2 separate regions of the Homo sapiens genome follow, and region 1 is linked to region 2. Evidence: promoter capture Hi-C in 16 types of primary human blood cells and fetal thymus (Javierre and others, 2016). All regions are on one chromosome and are shown on one strand. Each heading gives the region's core, a stretch centred on a gene start or on the middle of the fragment in contact. The rest is flanking DNA. Distances are from core to core; before and after follow the strand shown. Region 1 overlaps LINC02839 (long intergenic non-protein coding RNA 2839). Region 2 holds the start of RALYL (RALY RNA binding protein like).

Region 1 (5,095 bases), core at 1,708-4,207, 2.0 Mb before region 2:
CAGCCAAACTTATACTGAACAGGGAAAAGTTGAAAGCATTCCCTGTGAGAATTGGAATAAGACAAAGATGCCCACTTTCACCACTTCTATTCAACATAATACTGGAAGTCCTAGCCAGAGTAATCAGACAAGAGAAAGAAATCAAGGGCATCCAATCAGTAAGGAGGAAGTCAAACTGTCACTGTTCACCAATGATATGATCATATCCCTAGAAAACCCTAAAGACTCATGCAAAAAGCTCCCAGATGTGATAAATGAATTCAGTAATGTTTTGGGATACAAATTCTGTGTACACAAATCAGTAGCACTGCTATACCAAGGCAAAACTGCAAGAAATGCTAAAAGAAGTTCTAAATCTTGAAACTTCAACACCAAAAACAACCAAGCTGAGAATAAAATCAAGAACTCTATCCCTTTTACAACAGCTGAAAACAAACAAACGAACAAAAAAACTTGGATATATACCAAACCGAGGAGGTAAAAGATCTCTACAAAGAAAACTACAAAATACTGCTGAAAGAAATTATTGATGACACAAACAAACGGAAACACAAATGGAAATATGAAATCAATATTGATTCTACCCATCCCATGCTTATGGATGGGTAGAATCAATATTGTAATAATGCCCATATTGTCAAAAGTAATCTACAGATTCAATGCAATTCCCATCAAAGTACCATCATCCCTCTTCACAAAACTAGAAAAAAACAATCCTAAAGTACATATGGAATCAAAATAGACCCTGCATAGCCAAAGCAAGACTAAGCAAATAGAACAAATCTGGAGGCATCACATTACCCAACTTCAAACTATACTACAAGGCTATGGGCCATGGTTACCAAAACAGCATAATACTGGTATAAAAATAGGCACATAGACCAATGGAACAGAATTGAGAACTCAGAAATAAAGCCAAATACTTACAGCCAACTGATCTTTGACAAAGCAGACAAAAATATAAAGGGGGGGAAAGGACACCCTATTCAACAAATGATGCTGGGATAATTGAAAAGCCACATGTAGAAGAATGAAACTGGATCCTCATTTCTCACCTTATACAAAATTCAACTCAAGATGGATCAAAGACTTAAATATAAGACCTGAAAGCATAAAAATTCTAGAAGATAACATCAGTAGAACTCTTCTAGTTGTTGGCATAGGCAAAGACTTCATGACCAAGAACCCAAAAGCAAATGCAACAAAAACAAAAATAAATAGATGGGATGTAACTAAACTAAAAAACTTCTGCACAGCAAAAGAAATAATCAGCAGAGTAAACAGACAACCCACAGAATGTGAGAAAATATTTGCAAAGTATGCATCCCACAAAGAACTAATATTCAGAAACTGCAAGGAACTCAAACAAATCAGCAAGAAAAAAACAAATAACCCCATCAAAAAGCGGGCAAAGGACATGAATAGATAATTCTCAAAAGAAGATATACAAATGGTCAGCAGACATATGAAAAAATACTCAACATCACTAATTATTAGGGAAATGAAAATTAAAGCTGTAATGTGATACTATCTCACTCCTGCAAGAATGGCCATAATTTAAAAATAAAAAAAAAATAGATGTTGGTGTGGATGTGGTAAAAACCAAACACTTTTACTCTGCTTGTAGGAATGAAACTGATACAACCACTATGGAAAACAGTGTGGAAATTCCTTAAAGAACTAAAAGTAGAACTACCATTTGATCCAGCAATCCCACTACTGGGTATCTACCCAGAGAAAAGGAATTAATTATATGAAAAAGACACTTGCACGCACATGTTTATAGTTACAACATTTGCAATTGCAAAAACATGAAACCAGCCCAAGTGCCCATCAATCAATGAGTGCATATAACAAATGTGATATATATACACCATGGAATACTATTCAGTCATAAAAAGGAACGAAATAATGGCATTTGCAGCAAGTTGGATGGGATTGGAGACCATTATTCTAGGTGAAGTAACTCAGGACTGGCAAACCAAATATTCCTTGTTCTCACTTATAAGTGGGAGCTAAACTATGAGGATGCAAAGACATAAGAATGATATAATGGACTTTGGGGATTTGGGGGGAAGTAGTGGGGGAGGATGAGAGATAAAAGTTTACACATTGGGCAGTGTACACTGCTTGGGTGATGAGGGCACCAAAATCTCAGAAATTACCACTATAGAACTTATCTATGTAACAAAAAACCATCTGTTTTCCCAAAACTATTGAAATTAAAAAAAAATTTTTTTCTCTGTATTCTGATTGCTTTTTCTATGTGTACATACAGTAGAGATAATGTGCAAAGGGCTCTATTATATGTCCTTGCTATCACATCATACTATAGGTGTGTGTGTTGATATCTATGCCAGTTTTTCCTATTAAGCCATATACTATGTGCAGGATAGGGGACTCTGTCTTGTACATGCTTTTTACTCTCCCCACTGAATCCATTGTTATGTCTGACATATAGTAGGCATTAACTTCATTAAATAAATAAAAAGTTCTCCTTATTTAAGTCAGTTTACTTTCTATGTTTTGGCCCACCAGATGATTGATTGCATTCCACTAAATATGATTATGTGTTCAATGAACAAAAATAGAATTATGTCTGTTTTTGGTTAACTGATCAATTAATATTTCTATTACTGTATTATAAGCTTTATGAGGGCAAAGGTTATGTCTATTGTGTATTTCTATGTCCCTTGTGGTGAATACAGTAATTATGAATAAATGTTGAATAAATGAATGAATAAATTGGAATGCAGAAATTTTGGGTTGGGTTTTCTAAATTCTTTGTGGAGTCCTCTTCATGTGATATTTTTCTTCAGGGATGTCCTCTATTCTTTGAACAGTTCTGGTGGCTAAAAAGTCAGTTCTTGCCTATAGTATAGAAAATGCCCCACTTTCCTTGGTGCCACTTTTATGACTCTGGCTGTTTTTTCCTCTAAGGTGGTGTTAGTGGAGGCTTCAATTCAGAGTTAATTAATTCATATTTTATAGATTGAGAATAAGCCTACAAGTGTTATGAAGTGGATTATTTTTAGCATTCTCTCAACTCCTGGGCTTTGTATCTCACTACTCACATCCTTATTCTAAAATCTCAGTGAAGTGACTAGTACCCTCTCTTCCTCCCACACCTGACCTACTCTCTCTGATAAACACTTCACGTTTTAGAATTATGGCTCCTTGATTTCATAATTCTCATATATTGGAATTATGGCTCCTTGATTCCCAGTGAGAGTGTGGGAAGAGGGATGCAAACCTCAGGTTTGAGCCTAAGCTTTTATAAACAGATAGAAACACAGTATGTTTACTGGGTGAATGAATGAATCAGTGGAGACCAAAATAAAGATAAATGATGCATAAGATCTTAGACAGAATTTATCAAGTAGCACTCAGGAGTGAAAGTCATACTTTCCTGAAGTTGTATATTTCTAGCTAGTTGTTTGGTTTGTGATAGATAATGAATTTCTTTTTCTTTTTAAGAAGCTAATTTCTACTCTGGATACTCAAAAAAGTATGGAATTAATTTAAAAATTACACATTGGTTTTATTTCAAATAGTCTTTAGATCTAAGAATCTGTGTTTATGTCTAACTCAAGTATGAGTGATTGTCTTCCTCTTTTCCTACTTTTCGCTATTGTAAAGTCACTCTTCACACAGTTTCTCAGTTAGATCACATTCTGAAGAGGAGAGAAAATACTTGAACTCGTCTAGAAAAAAACATACCTAATACTCAAGTATTTAGTTCACATACAAACGACATTATTTTCTAGTACAAAAATTATAGGACATTATTCAGCCTAATGATTTATTCAACAAGTATTCCTTGAATGCATATTATGTTAGGATACTATATCATGGTGTTGGATATAGAGGAGGATGTAAAGTTGAACAAGAGTTCTTTGAGAATCTTTCGTCTGGTGAAGAAGACAGATACAATTCAACTGCTATTAAACGAGCAGGGAAGTAGGATGGTTTTTTTTTCTTATTAAGAAGACCACAGACAGAAAAATGTTCATCATGAACAGAAGTAAAATTATTTCATTCGGAGGAAACAAAACACAAATAAAGTTAAAGAATATATGATTTGCCGGGTATGGTAGCTCACACCTGTAATCCCAGCACTTTGGGAGGCTGAAGTGGGTGGATGCTTGAGCTCAGGAGTTTGAGACCATCCCAGGCAACATGGTGAAACCTCATCTGTACAAAAAATACAAAAAATAGCTGGACTTGGTGGCACATGCCTGTGGTCCCAGCTACTTGGGAAGCTGAGGTGGGAGGATCCCTTGAGCCCAGGAAGCAGAGTTGCAATGAACTAAGATCATGTCAGTGCACTCCAGCCTGGGCAACAGATTGAGACCCTGTCTTTTAAAAAAAGAAAAAAAAAAGAATATATGATTTGTTTGAGAAGCAATAAGAAAGACTGAGTGGCTGGAAAGTAAAGGAGTGGGCCATGTGGGAGCAGAGTGGTTTCATTTGGAGTTTCACCAAAGATGACAGTGACAACATGAATAACAATGATAACGTGATGTGATAAAGGATTACCTACAGTAAGGGAAGACTGAAAAAGAGTGACACAGTTAATACTCGATCCAGGGCATGATAAACATTTGAGGAACAGCACTGGCCATGAAATGGAGAGGAAAGGGAAGTGTGGAATTTGTTTCTGAGATGAAACCATCTTGTGTGTGTGTTAAAGGCGACTGAGGATTTCAGGGTGGCTCCACCAGTCCTGACTTCTGGGCTGCCTGAATGCCATGATCTTTTTGGCATGATGCTTTTTCCTTTACAGTGTATATCTTACAATAATATATGGTAACTCTAGAATATTATCTAGGCATATTCACACCTAAGGGAAGGTGTGATAATTTTACCCATATTGGTAGTGATAGTGAAATTTTCAGCCTGGAAAAGATACATTTCCTTCATGAATCTCATGTATTAAGTAAAAGTTACTAGTAGTCAGTGATATTTCATGTCCTTCTTTTTCTGATAATAACTGGAAAACAAAAGTCAATTTGTTTTTAGAAATCATCAAATAAATTCTATTCACATTACAACATAGTTCTCACTGTTATGGTAGTTTCAGTTGGGCAGGATG
Region 2 (5,014 bases), core at 54-2,553:
TCTTTGAACTGCAGAATTGTGTTAATTGCTCATTCTCAAATATAGAGACGCCAATTAATTCCACACAACCTAGATTCAAAGCAGCACAGGGAAATGGTCCTGAGGTGAGTATTGTACAAAAATGAAGAAAAATAGATGTGTTCTAGCGTCCACAAAGCTGATTCTTCAACAGGCAGTAATAGAAGCCCAATGCACCCAGCGATTGGCTGATGGCATCTTTGTTCAGGCGATCGATGAGCGCCCTAACCCACACGCTGGGTGGAGAAATCCCTCTGCCACCCTCACCTTCAGAATCCACTGCTCAGCCACCTGGCTCCCGCGGGGTGCGCCACCGCCTCACTGCTGGTACACGTCTCCCCCTCTCGACCGCCAAGTGCTTGCTCCCTCCAGGCGAGCACTCACACAATGGACTCACTTGTTTCCCATGCCCCTCTCCTTTGACTTCCAGCCTCAGCGAACAACTTGAGCAAGAGTCAAACAGGAGTCTCTGCCATGGAGCATAGACCCTTGGAGCTTTCCAGACCAGCTCAGAAGCACGGGCGCACACACAGACAAAACAATGCCTTGTCCACGAATGAATAAAGGACACCCATGCCCCCACCCACCGCTCCGCAACCCGCAGAAAGAAACCCGGGACGGGGTTTCCTAAATAAGAGATTTTGTTGTGTCTTTCAAACTGCAAGCATTCCCCTTGAAGACGGCGAAAGAGAGGCTGTGCGTTCAGATGGCAATAAAGATTGACAGTGGCTTTGCCCGTGACAACGCCCCCAGCATCGCGCTGAGCCAGGTTCCCTGAGAACCGGGAGGGGGAAACGCAGATCTAGGGAGGAGGGAACAGCAGAGGCAAAGGCAGCTTGGGAGGGATGGGAAATGGAAAATCAGGGAAACAAACAAACAAACAAACAAAATGAATGAGTGAATGTGGGCTTGAATAGTAAAACTTCCAGAGAGAAGACGATGGGATCTCTCCCCAGGTAACTACCTGTAGATGAAAAATAGATGAAATACACAAGGAAGTGGCAAGCAACAACTTTGAGGTGAGCAGCAAGTTGTGCACCTCCTCTCAAGGCGCTGGATCAGCACCCCTGAGCTGCCCCCACAGCACACACTCCCAATGCGAGGCGGCGGCGGCAGCAACAGAGGCAGCAGCAGCAATCGCGGCAGCAGCGGCAGAGGCGGCGGCAGCTGCGCGCCTCGGGCCCAACCCCGCTCGGCTCCCCCTCTCGCCGGCGCCCTGCCTGTCTTGCGTGTGCGTGTGCGTGTGCTCAGCCTCAGCGTGAGGGGCACCTGCTCGTCTGGGCTCACAGCGAAGGCAGCCTCGCCGCGAGCTGCCGCTGCCGCTGCTGCCGCCACTGGTGTTGCCGCTCTCAGGCGCCAGGCTCCCCGTCGCCGCCGCCGCCGCCTCGCCAGCCAGAGTTGGGCTCCGTGGGCTTCCCCCCTCGCAGCCTCGGTCCTTCCCCGCTGCCTGCAAGTCAGCCTGGCTCCGAGTCACGTGTCAGTGCCTGAGGCAGAGACTGCGAGAAAAAAACGCGCTTCATTCCTTCTTCCACCGCCATACTGTATTTTATACTAAATCTCATTTTTATTCCAACATTTTACTCCCGCTCGGTGAGTACCTTCTCAGTGGCATTCTTGTCCTATTCTTTTTTTTGTCCTTTTTTTTGGTTTTTTGTTTTTTTTGTTTTTGTTTTTTTTCTTTTTTTCCACTTCTTTGATTATTGTTTATATTTGGGAAAGCTGGAGGAGCATGGTTTTGAGCCTTTTCCTGAATCCAAGTTTTTCTAGCATGCGATCGTTCTGTAGACAAGGCGCTGTGTCTCGGAGTCCGCGGCGACCGTGCCCGCTGGGAGCGTCTCCCAAGTCCAGCAAAATGTGCAACTGGTTTTATGGAAAAAGCGATGTGAAGTATGGTGCCTATTTTTTTCCTTTGTAAAAATAAAAAGCATGTTTCTAACTCTTTTTTTGCATACTCTTTTTCTGATAACATTTTTGTATAGGTGGGATTTTACGGCAGTGTTTACAAGTTTGTGGTCTTGCAATACTGGTGCAAACCACTGAGCAAAGACATTAATTTTATATTTTTTGTGCCCTTTTTGGAAGCCGGTGAAAACAAATTCGTTTTTTTTCCCTCCTGTTTTTGATACCCATTGATAACATGAAACTTTTCTTACAGCTGGTGATTGGGATCATTTTTAAGCAAAATACTTTTTTCCTCCTTTAAATTAACTATGACTTTTGCACATTTGACTTTTTTAAAAAACCGAGATAATTTTATGATAGATATCCTGATATCTATATCTATATTGTCCCTTATTTCTCCCCCTTCCCTCCCCGTAAATCAATTTTCAAATGATGGCAGTGGAAGGTTTTTCTGGAAAAAAAAAAATGAAGTGCGGTTTGGTTTCCTTGTCAACGGAGGATGAAGTGAACAGCTGAGCAGCTCGCAGAGAGCAGGTACTTGGTCCCCTTGGAGGCGTTTCCCGGGTGTGCAGTGGCAACACTGGTCCTAGCAAAGAAATGTGTGAGTGTGAGTGTGTGTGTGTGTCTGTGTTTGCGCGCGCGCATCTCCGGGCAGTGTCCGAGCCCGAGGTGGGGAGAGCGGCGCAGGGAGCCAGGGAAAACCAAAGTCCGTTCCCTGCTTCAGGATCGTTTTCTAGATGTGCGCAAAATACAGTCCCCTCCCCCCACCCCTCCCACGGTGAGCTGCGCCCAGGTCGTCTCCCGGCGGGGCGGGTGGCGTCTGCGCTGCGGGCCGCGCCGGCCGGGCACTAGGCGGCCGGCGGGCCCTGTAAGTTCTCCGAGGGCCACTTGCACAGCAGGAGGGGCGAGGGCCGTGTACGTGGCGCTGGCCGTCGGGCGGGCTAGAGGGGACCCTCAGAGCACCCGGGAGATGGGGGTAGAAGCGGCAGAGACCGCATATTCCGGAGGGGCTGGCTCCAGGCCACGCGAGCCGGAGCTGGAGACATTTCCAGAGCCTTGAGGATGGCACCGGCCCTCGCACGCTCAACTCCTGCTCCTCCTCTTCGCAATGAGTAAACGACGCAGTAGGTCCTACCCAGCCTATTTTGCTTTACCAAAGGGCTTTGCTTTCTTAGGGATGCTGTCTTTGGATCTTTTTTTTCCCTGTTGTGTTGCGTTGGTTTTAAGTGCCTGCTGGTGTCGTCTTCCAGGGGATGGGGAAATAGTTTCTTATAAGATGATCACTTGGGTTTAATGTTGAGGACGACGCTGTTAGTTTGCAGTAATGACCCTACACCTCTAAGGTATTAAAAAAATGCCTTTTATTTAAATTTTGTTAAAGGGGCAGAGTTTTCCCTCTTTTTAACCACCTGATACTGGCTCTAAAGGTTTTCCCCTGAGAACTGTGTACAGGGCAGGAGTGAGGGGTTGGTGATAGAGGTGATGATTTCGTGTGTTGGTAGCACTGACGTATTCAATGTTGAATGTATTCTATGATATTTTATGATTATCCTGTTACATGTTTTCAGTATAATTTAGCATTACTTTTCAGAGACGTACCAGTTGGCAATAAAAAGCCTTTTCTGTATTTAACACTGTGACCGAATCTGCTGGAAATTTTTCTGTCCAAATAAATTTCCTGAAGGCATACATCTTAAAATCTGGAGAGTCACCATTATTTAAATACTTTGATTTTGAAGCTTTGATTTTCTTACCTTTTCCCCCCTTAAATGAAAAGCTTAGCTTTAAATTACCATGTGTATATACTTTGAATTCTGTAAAATAAACATAAAGCAAATGAAACAACAACTTTTTACCTCTCAGATGAAGTTTTCTTCTAGGTAACTACAGAAATAAAAACTGACTGCAACATACAGAGGGGCCCATGACAAAGGGGTTTATAACATACACTGGCTTTTTCAAGCAAATATTTCACTGTCTGTAACCTCAGTTTGTGGAATGAAAGGTTTTACGCCTTAGTTTTTACTCTTTGTGGTCAAAAAGTAAGGCGTGCAATGGGCCATTTAACTGTAGAAGATTAAAAGTTAGTGTAATATCTGGAAAGTTGTATATATTTTTTATTCACAACTCATGCAAGTATCTCAAAAGTCTTTGGACATTTCATTGTATTTCCTGGCGGGGAAATACAATGTATGTGAGTTATTTTGTTCTCCGAGTAGCTTTTCTCTGTGAAGGAAATCCTGTTGCATTTATATAAAGAAGATAGTTTATGTCACTGTCTGTGGACACCATATTTGATATCTTGAGGTGTATAGTTCTAAGATTTGAAGCCAATATGATGGCACTAAGCCTGAAATTAGGATTTTCTTATTTTGTATAGTGAGCTAATTACTAAAATACAGTCTTTCATATGCCTCAAACAGCTAACATAAAACATTAAAAAAGCCACTTGCAACATTCTGTGATTTTAAAAATCATTTCAATTATAACAATGTATGTACATAGAAATGCTCATTTATTAAAATGCAAGACAATTTATGTGTATAATATATTTTTGTATGTTTTATGTATTGTAAGTCGTTTAGTTCTTTTAAGAGAGAGAGAGACAGAGCAAGCAAGCAAGAACTTGAATGATCGAACCTGCATTTTCATTAAGAGAATCAGTTGCTGCCCTAAGGTTGAGGTAGTATGTGGTTTAAGATTGGGCAAAGCACTAGCTGTACTGTGTGATATTTCCCAATGAGATTGAAACAATTAATGGGACCAAAGACGATTTTAATGTGAGGACAGAGAGGTAGTTGTGCTTTAATTTCTGTAACTTAAGATCATTCTAAGAACCTTTAGTTATCTATGTTTTCATTTATTTAAGATTCATTTTTAATTATATTGTAGACTTGTATTACATTTCTATCTATTACATTCAAATTTTTCAGATTTCTTCCTGTGTGAATCATTCTGGGAATTCTACAACTCTTAAACTGGCCACCTGTTTAGTTTTTGATTTAAAATTGTTGAAGGTAGTATCCTAGATTTAGCACCGCCTACTGGCTTCTCATGGAAAAAATGTATTTTTTCATTCGCCAAGCGACCCACA

What was found. Contacts are between HindIII fragments. The CHiCAGO score rates a contact against its expected background, and 5 or more counts as called.
Region 1: a contact is called between a fragment that was not itself captured here and the fragment with the promoter of RALYL in region 2, in 1 of 17 cell types (total B cells). The highest score is 6.3, in total B cells.

What each region holds. Positions count from the first base shown.
Region 1 is chr8:82,133,825-82,138,919 of GRCh38, forward strand. All of the region lies in intron 2 of LINC02839 (long intergenic non-protein coding RNA 2839), which reads right to left. Among named protein-coding and RNA genes, the nearest start is that of LINC02839, 24 kb to the right of the region's middle. The HindIII fragment of the contact is 623 bases long and covers 2,647-3,269 here.
Region 2 is chr8:84,181,971-84,186,984 of GRCh38, forward strand. RALYL (RALY RNA binding protein like) reads left to right here and starts at 1,304. Exons shown (of 9, transcript NM_173848.7): 1 at 1,304-2,454. The HindIII fragment of the contact is 11,643 bases long and covers 1-3,657 here.